Regions from separate parts of the Homo sapiens genome. Here regions 1 and 2 are each linked to region 3. Evidence: promoter capture Hi-C in 16 types of primary human blood cells and fetal thymus (Javierre and others, 2016). All regions are on one chromosome and are shown on one strand. The core of a region is centred on a gene start or on the middle of the fragment in contact, and the rest is flanking DNA. Distances in the headings are between cores, read along the strand shown.

Region 1 (2,836 bases), core at 202-2,701, 160 kb before region 3:
GTGATGCTTCCCTGCTCCCTCGCCTTTCTCTGCATCTGATCCTGGGATGTCCTAGCCACCATGGCTTTCCAGCTGAGCAGGTACTGCCAGTCATGGGCATGTCTAGGCCGTGCAGGGGCCACTGTGGGTGGATTGTTTAGGGACATTTGGAAGGGAAGGGTGGGTAGAGGGGACTCGGCCCCTGTGCCCAGCAGGCTGGCTGGTGTCATGCAGCCAGGAAGGGCAGTAGGGCACCCACCTGGCCTGGCTCTTACTGACCCCCAAGATTAGGTGGTCAGCCGAAGCTGGGATAGGAAGTGCAGGCCTGCGTGAGCTGGGGTCCCCTGACGGACCAGGGCACTCCCCTGCCTGCTCTAGTCCCCAGGGAGGAAGGCACCTGGTTTTCTTTCCAGCCTTGCTCCTGTGGCTTCCCTCTGCTCCCTTCAGCTGGGCTGGGTTCACTGCGGTTTCCCAGCGCTGCTGAGCTTCCTACCTGCGGTGGAGGGGGGGTCTGTGGGCTGCACAAGGAGCCTCCTGGGTCAGTCCCCTGCCCCTGGCCAAAATGGAGGCTGGGAGCTCAGGGCCATTGTTGGCCTCTTCCCCCGTCCTGCTTGGGGGCCTGCAAGTGCTGCTGGAACTTTCCTTGGCACAGCCCTTCCTCCCACCCTTCCCTCTTCTGGAGATGCAGTGGCGTGTCTGTGGGTTGAAGGGACTTCGCCGGAACTGCCTTAGGCAGCAAGTCAAAGAGGAGAAGCAGGGGCCAGACTCTGTGACTCACGCCTGTAATCTCAGCACTTTGGGAGGCCGAGGCAGGTGGATCAACTGAGGTCAGGAGTTTGAGACCAGCCTGGCCAACATGGTGAAACCCCCGTCTCTACTAAAAAATACAAAAATTAGCCAGGCATGGTGGCACGCACCTGTAATCCCAGCTACTTGGGAGGCTGAGGTAGGAGAATCACTTGAACCCGGGAGGTGGAGGTTGCAGAGAGCCAAGATCACGCCACTGCATTCCAGCCTGGGTGACAGAGCGAGACTCCCTCTCAAAAAAAAAAAAAAGAGGAGAAGCAGGGCTGCTTGAGCTTCTGTTTGGCAGAGTCCCCCATGGAAAGAGGAGGCATTTATGTGTGCTTGTGCCTGGACTTTGAGGCCCCACACCCATCCACGTGCCTGTTTTGTCCCTCAAGGCTGCCTGGTGTGAGGCCCCCGCCCCCCATGCCATAAGGAGACCCGCTTCTCCTTTCCTTCCGGGAAGGGCAACCCCTGTCCCTTGTCTACTCCTGGCCAAGGCAGCCTCTGCTGAGCTCCTGAAGGAAGCTCCGAGTGTCTGCAGGCCCCAGGTGGTGGCCCCCAGCCATGAGTGGCATCTGCAGCCCTATGACTGGGGACAGTCTGCCCAGACACCTCTGTCCCACCCAGCTTTCCAGCTGAGGTGAGGGTGGAGCACACGCACCTGGTGCTTGACCTCTGGTTTGAGGCCTTTGTCAGAAGGGGGCAGTAATGAGCCGCCTGCCCTGCAGGCCCCGTGTGGGCCTGACCTGCCTATACCCCAGACCCTTACCTGGCTGTGCACCTTCAGGTGGGCACTTTAGCTTCCACCATGGAGTAAAGGAAGCAAGGCTCACCTACCCCTGGTTACCCTGGGTTTCACGTAGTAATGTTTTCATTTTAGCACTGACTTTTTTTTTTTTTGAGGCGGAGTTTCGCTCTTGTTGCCCAGGCTGGAGTGCAATGGCGCGATCTTGGCTCACCACAAACTTCGCTTCTTGGGTTTAAGCGATTCTCCTGCCTCAGCCTCCCAGGTAGCTGGGATTACAGGCATGTGCCACCATGGTTGGCTAATTTTGTATTTTTAGTAGAGACAGGGTTTCTCCATGTTGGTCAGGTTGGTCTCAAACTCCTGACCTCAGGTGATCCACCTGCCTCAGCTCCTAAAGTGCTGGGATTACAGGCGTGAGCCACTGCGTCCAGCCACAAAAGTGTAGTCGTCGTCGTCCTTTTTTTTTTTTTTGAGACACAGTCTCACCCTGTGGCCCAGGCTGGAGTGCAATGGCATGATCTTGGCTCACTGCAACCTCCGCCTCCTGGGTTCAAACAATTCTCCTGCCTCAGCCTCCCAAGTAGCTGGGATTATAGGAGCCTGCCACCACGCCCAGCTATTTTTTTTCTATTTTTAATAGAGACGGGGTTTCACCATGTTGGCCAGCCTGGTCTCAAACTCCTGACCTCATGATCCGCCCGCCTCGGCCTCCCAAAGTGCTGGGATTACAGGTGTGAGCCACTGCGCTTGGCCAGCACTGACATTTTTGTGTCAGAGTCAGAGACACTGGTGACACTCCCAGCTGGTCGTGTGCTGGGCTGTGGAAGGGGCAGGCAGGGTTCAGTGCCCTGCAGGGCTGCTGCCAAGGTCACCGCACAGGGGCCTGTCCAGGGCTGGCCAGGTGTGGGTGGCAGGTGCTGAGCTGGGCTGAGGGTGCTGAGCGGGGCTGAGGGTGCTGAGCTGGGCTGAGGGTGCTGGGCAGGGCTGAGGGTGCTGAGGGTGCTGCCGCTGCTGCCTCGGGGCTCCCCTGTGCCACTCAGTGCTGCTTTCTTTGGGAGCATCAGAGACCTCCGGGCATGGCCACAAACCAGGTGGCAGGTGACAACCGGAAGCAGTTTCCTCAGGCTGGAGACCAGCGGTGGGCAGGGCCATGCTCCCGAAGGTTTGACGGGAGGCTGCTCCCGTCTCTGCCTTCATCTTCACCTGGACCTCCTGTGTCTCATGTCGAGACTTCCCTGTTCCTATAAGGACACCAGTCATTGGGTTAGGGCCCTTCCTAAGGCACGGCGACCTCATCTTGATTGTATCTGGATGCAAAGA
Region 2 (2,700 bases), core at 141-2,640, 220 kb after region 3:
TCTTCAGGAAGCTCTCAGTGGATTCTTATTTGAATAGACTGGATGTGAAGTAGCATAGAGGTGGTGGGAGGGTGGTTAGGATCTGGCATTCTGGAAAGAAGCCCAAGCCAGCGACGGTTCTGGGAGCCACGGGATCCTGCCTGAGAATGGCCTCCTGAGAGTGCAGGAGAGGAGGAGGAGGAGGTGGCGGTGCTGGGGGAACCCAGGCAGTCCCGGGTGAGGAGGGGCACGTGCAGAAGCTTTGCCTAGGCCCCAGGGACAGAGCAGGGAACAGACTATTTCAGGCTTGTGTCCTCAGAGAGCTCACGTTGTAGATGGGGGCAGCAGACAGTCAACATGGAAAAGCCAGGGGGTTGCTCTGGGGAGAGATGAGGCAGGCTCAGAGGGCAGGTCTGGATGCGGGAGGAGCTGAGGAGGAAGAGAGACTGAGGGGAAGAGGGAGGAGGACAGGGAGGTAGCGTGGTAATGGGAGCTGGGGGCCAGGCCCCGGTGCGTGGTGATGGGAGCTGGGCTTGGAGTCTTCAGACCTGCTCTGCCCACCTTCCCTGTCCTCATGGATAACACCACCTCCCTCCACGTTGCTTCACTTGAGATGCGAGATTCAGTACTGGGCCTGGGAGGGCTGGGCCGACCTAGGCAGCTGGCCCTTCCCACTTTTCTCCCTTCATGACCACGCAGCCACTCCTGCAAAGCAGCAGAGCCCAGCGGTGCCTGCTTCCTGTCACCCTCCCTGCCCCTCCCTGTCTCGCCTCCTCCTAATTGGCCCCTGCTTCCACTCCCGCCCCCACATGGCAGCTGCGGGAATTTTCTTAAATCCCGAACCAGATTGTGTCATTTCTGCTTAGAATCTCTCCCTGGCCTCCCTGCATGATTGGAGTGAGAACCCAGCTTCTCCTCGCGCCGTGAGGCCTGCCTGAACGCTCTTGCGCCTGGCGCTCATTCCTTCTCTCCTCCCTGGCCCAGCCTGCTGCAGTCCGGTGGGCTTTCTGCTTAGAATGTACCTGGGACTGGTTTCCATTTAGGGGTGGTGAGGCCAGCGGATCAGGAGACAACTCAGCTGAGACCCTGTCTGTTACTCAGGGCTCCCAAGACGAGGGGTAGGCCATGTCCCACAGGCCACCTGGGGAAGCGCAGGGTTGGTCAGGAGGCAGGAGGGTGGAAGGGAGGCATGGGCAGAGACTTGATTATGGTTTTGTGGGAGGACTGGGCCAGGGAGGGTGGGCAGCTGGACGGGCTTGCGTTGGCCAAGGAGAGTCATGTCGTGGTCTCTGAGGTGCAGGGATGGCCCGAGGTGTCTGGTCACTGACCCTGAGAGACCATGGCAGAGGGTGGGACTCCTGGGGTGTGTGAGCCAGACAGAGGTAGTGGGGCATGTGGTCTCTGGACGGGTTGGTTTTCATGTCAGACACATTCTGATAGGCCTGCCATTTGCCACCCTAGGAATTAACCGGCTCTGGGGGACAGTCTTATCTCGTCACTGAGGCCCCAGATGCCAGAGCATCAGTAATACAGAAAATTAGAAAATACAGGCCGGGCATGGTGGCTTACCCCTGTAACCCCAGCACTTTGGGAGGCCGAGACGGGCGGGTCACTTGAGGACAGGAGATCAAGACCAGCCTGGCAAAACCCACTCTCTACAAAAAGTACAAAAATTAGCCGGGTGTGGTGGAGTGCACCTGTGGTCCCAGCTACTTGACAGGATGAGGCAGGAGGATTGCTTGAGCCTGGGAGGTGGAGGCTGCAGTGGCCAGACCTCCAGCCTGGGTGACAGACGAGACCCTTTTCTTAAAAACAAAAACAAAACACAGGTACTATAGCTAAATATAGTTCCTGCACTTCTCGCTGGCTCCTGGAGCACGTGTGCTCTCTTCCTCTCAGGACCTTTGAGTTTGCTGCTCCTCCTGCCTGGCTCCCTCTCCCCAAACTCCCTGTGGTTCTTCTCATGCCCCCCTTGTTCTCAGCTCAAGGATCATCTCAGAGAGCCTGCCCTGCCCTGCCCTGCCCCGCCCCACCCACCTCTCTCCCCGTTCTTCACCATGTAAGCCCTGTAAGGGCAGAGATTTTGTCTGTTCCTTGTTGTTTCCCTAGTGCCTGGAAATGTGCCTGGCAGAGAGTCAATGCGCAGAATAGATGTGTAAGTAACGTTTACTAAGTGAATAGGTGAAAGAAAGGTGGAGGACTCTTGTCTCAGGTAAGAACCTGTCACAGAAGAGAAAAGGCTAAAGCAATACTTGCTGTAAGTGGTAAAGCTCCGGGGCAGGGTCCTGCCTGTCTACACTCTGGCTGCCGCTCTGGGCAGGGTCCTGCCTGTCTACACTCTGGCTGCTTTGTTCTGTATTTGTAGCCATGATTTCTCAATTCTCAAAGATCTGCTTTTTGCTTTGCCAATGTCACCCCAAAATCTGGGAAGTTGAGGATTTAGTTTCTGGTTATATCAGGAAGGGCTCATTTGGTTGGAAATGATTAACAAACCCATCCAAAATGATTTACGTGAGAGGCGATTTGTTGACTCACAGCAAATCCACAGCCAGCATAAGCTTCAGGTGTGGCTTGAGCGAGGTCTCAGGTGATGTCCCCTGGACTTGTTCTCTCTCACCTGTTGGCTGCTGGGAGCCCTGGGCCTCATCCTGGCAGGCGCATGTGTCTCCTGTGGTCATGTCCTCTTGTGCGTCCTGGGCTCTGGCTGAGTCAGAAGCCTGT
Region 3 (2,837 bases), core at 256-2,755:
GCCCTGAGGGCTCGCTTAGGGTCCGTTATCAGCCAGGGTCCAGTCAAAAGACAACACATTATAGTTTTTAACTGAGAGAATTTAATATAAAGGATTGTTAACTAGGTATAAAGATGTGTTTAGGTAACTGTCGGGGTATAATACTAACAGTAGCAACTGCAGGAAGTAGCTACCACTGGTAGGTGGTATTATTAAAATGTAGATGCTTGAGGAGGGGCACAGGGAGGTGAAACTCAGACATCTGAGGAGAGGGTGCTGCTCTGCTAGGGCTGGTGTCTCTGAGGAGAAAACGAGGCTGGTTCTGCAAATGTTGGAATAAGTGCAGACTGGATTCCACTGCTGCTTCCAGAATGTTCCAACTGCCACCTCCAGGATAAAGAAGCAAGAGTGGATGACACCAGACAGGACAGGAGCAAGCAGGAAGCAAAGCCCCCTATTGATAGAGCCAAACCGGGATCAGCTGGAAAGCAGAAGTGTTTGCAGAGGCCCAGCCTGATCATTATAGAGCCAAGAACAGCAGCTGGCTTTGGAGCTTGGTCAACCGGCTTGAGGCCTGAGTTGAAAGCTAGACCCATCAGCACAGTCTCTTCTGGTGATTGGACTTTTGCTAGGTGAGTACACTGAAGCCAGGTAAAGGGAGTGGAGAGTGTGTGTGCCACTGAGTGATTTACAATTCAGGATCCTGGAATATAATTCCGTGAGGACGCAGCGGGTGACTGGGTGCAAAGTAGCCCAGTTCAAGGGACCTGTGGGCCTGGGGATGAGGACCTTTGCTTCTCCACATGCGGTCCATGGACTCGCAGCATCAGCATCGTCTGAGAGCTTGTGAGAAATGCAGAATTTCAGGCCACTGAGACCGCTGGAATTGGAATCTGCATTTTCCAGATCTCCTGGTGGTCCTCAACTACTTACTGGTTTGGGATGGGAAACTAGAAGGCTTGGGCTGGGAAACTAGGGAGTGGTGATCAGCGAGGGGGCGGCCTGGCTACAGCAAAAAGGACAGGCACTGGGAGACAGCCCCTGGGCATGAGCTTCCAAGCTGGGGCTTTTTGAGGAAGCCATAGTGGTCTGGCATTGGGACCTCTGAACGAAATTTCCCGGTGGCTACAAGGAATTTTCCCACTTCCCCAAATTAGTAGATTCGATTTCCATCCCACTAGCTGGTAATTTACAGTATAGTGAATTTCCTTATTTCTTTTTTCTTCCCAAGACTTTCAAAAAGTAAAGCCAACCCCTTTATTTATCTTTGGGCTCGTCCAGTCTGGCTTCCCCCCTCCGATCGTTCGCAGTGGGACAGCCCGCCGGGCCTCCTTCCTTCCCCAGAAACCCTCCAGGCCTGGGAGAGGACGCGTTTTGCATTCAGGAAAAACCAATCGCTCCCCTATCGTACATAACCAAGAGAAAAGGTGGCGGACGAGGGGCGTGGCAAAGTGATTAGTGCGGCCTGGACCCTGCGTGCCTTGCGCGCTGCGGGCTCTTTGCGTCTGCGTAGTTCGCTCACCTCCCTTTCTAACTCCGCTGCCGCCATGGCTCCTGTGGTTAGTATGGCTCCGCGTGAGGCCTCGGCTCCAGGGGAGGCACGTGGGCCTCGCCGAGCCCGGCATCTACCCAGGCTCGCTGGGGACGGCGCCCTGCAGCGTCCTGCTGGGGTGGGCTGGCAGGTCGGCCGGAGCGGGCCAGAGCCCCTGCCGATCCCAGCACGTTGTAGGCGGAGGAGGCCGCGGCCCGAGGCTCGTGAGGGAGATCCGGGAGGTCTCGGAGGCCCGGGGCCCCAGCTAGGGGCTAGCGGGGAGCTGGAGCCTGGAGACTGCGGTCTGGGCCGGCCACTGGTCCTCGGACCCCGGCCGGGGGCCTGATTACCTGGGTGGAGGGCGGGGAAGAAGAACGGGACCTGCTACCCTGGGGAGCCGCGCATTCGGAAGTCCACGGCCAAGACTCGGGGACGAATCCGCGGAAGGGCGGCTTGGTCGGCGTGCTTTCGGAGAGGAGGCCTGGGTTTGAGGAGCTTTTTAGCGTCCCCAGAGGAAATTAGTTTATCAGGGCGCACTGTACAGACCCAAACGGGTGTTGCAGTGGTGTAGGGAGAAGGCTCTCATTGCATTCTCCTTTAGCTATGCTGGGACTGGGCTGTGCGGCGCCCTCCTCCTAGGTTATTTGAGAAAGTTGTTTTTCCGTGTTCTTCGTCCCAAGATCCTACTTTTCCTCTTTTGTTGGGACTCCCTGGTTAACATTTCCGGTTCTTCTGCTCTTTCTGTCTGGTTGGGCTTTTGAATGCCTTTTGGTTTAAAACCTTGATGGAGAAGTATCAAGCCCGTTGTGGGTAGGTCTCTTGATTGATTGTGTGTGTTCGGAATAGATCTTAAAGTACCCCTCTTAGATTATTACTGCGAAGAGACGTTGTAAAAAATAAATCAGTGATTTTTGTAGTGGCCAAATGTTTGAAAAGTTGATCCAGTTAACACAAGTTTTAGATGAAGTTCTTTTAAACATGAAGGGAGGTAAGATGTGTTTTTGGAAAAGTCTATTTAGTTCTGCAGAGCTTTTAAACGTGAAAGTACAGGTTGGTACGATGCACAAGTGCATTAATGGTGTCAAGTTTGTAGAGAGATAAGATTAACACAAGCTTCTTCGTAAGAGTGAAGAAACTGGAACCTTGTAGGATGTGCTTTGCCGGGTGGTTTGGAAGTACTAATGCATAGATGAAGCGAATCAAAATGTCAGAAGTTCTTGACGGTAGTGTTGTAATAAGATTCTAGGTTTTAGCCTTAACCTTGTCCAAGCTGGAGTGGACAGGCACCTAGAATACTTTGCAACTCCCTTCATGAGAAGGTGGATGA

The links. The method cuts DNA at HindIII sites, captures the fragments that hold promoters and counts their contacts. A CHiCAGO score of 5 or more calls a contact.
Region 1: a contact is called between a fragment that was not itself captured here and the fragment with the promoter of RPL22 in region 3, in 1 of 17 cell types (erythroblasts). The highest score is 5.0, in erythroblasts.
Region 2: a fragment that was not itself captured here is called in contact with the fragment with the promoter of RPL22 in region 3 in 2 of 17 cell types (fetal thymus and monocytes); the score reaches 6.5 in fetal thymus.

The regions. Positions count from the first base shown.
Region 1 is chr1:6,356,070-6,358,905 of GRCh38, reverse strand. All of the region lies in intron 1 of ACOT7 (acyl-CoA thioesterase 7), which reads left to right. Among named protein-coding and RNA genes, the nearest start is that of ACOT7, 36 kb to the left of the region's middle. RefSeq lists enhancers at 1-138, 839-1,806. The HindIII fragment of the contact is 6,351 bases long and covers 1-2,836 here.
Region 2 is chr1:5,978,642-5,981,341 of GRCh38, reverse strand. All of the region lies in intron 2 of NPHP4 (nephrocystin 4), which reads left to right. Among named protein-coding and RNA genes, the nearest start is that of NPHP4, 12 kb to the left of the region's middle. The HindIII fragment of the contact is 2,298 bases long and covers 242-2,539 here.
Region 3 is chr1:6,198,263-6,201,099 of GRCh38, reverse strand. It overlaps RPL22 (ribosomal protein L22), which reads left to right and starts at 1,505. Exons shown (of 4, transcript NM_000983.4): 1 at 1,505-1,538. The coding sequence starts at 1,527. RefSeq lists a silencer at 1,614-1,753. The HindIII fragment of the contact is 15,793 bases long and covers 1-2,625 here.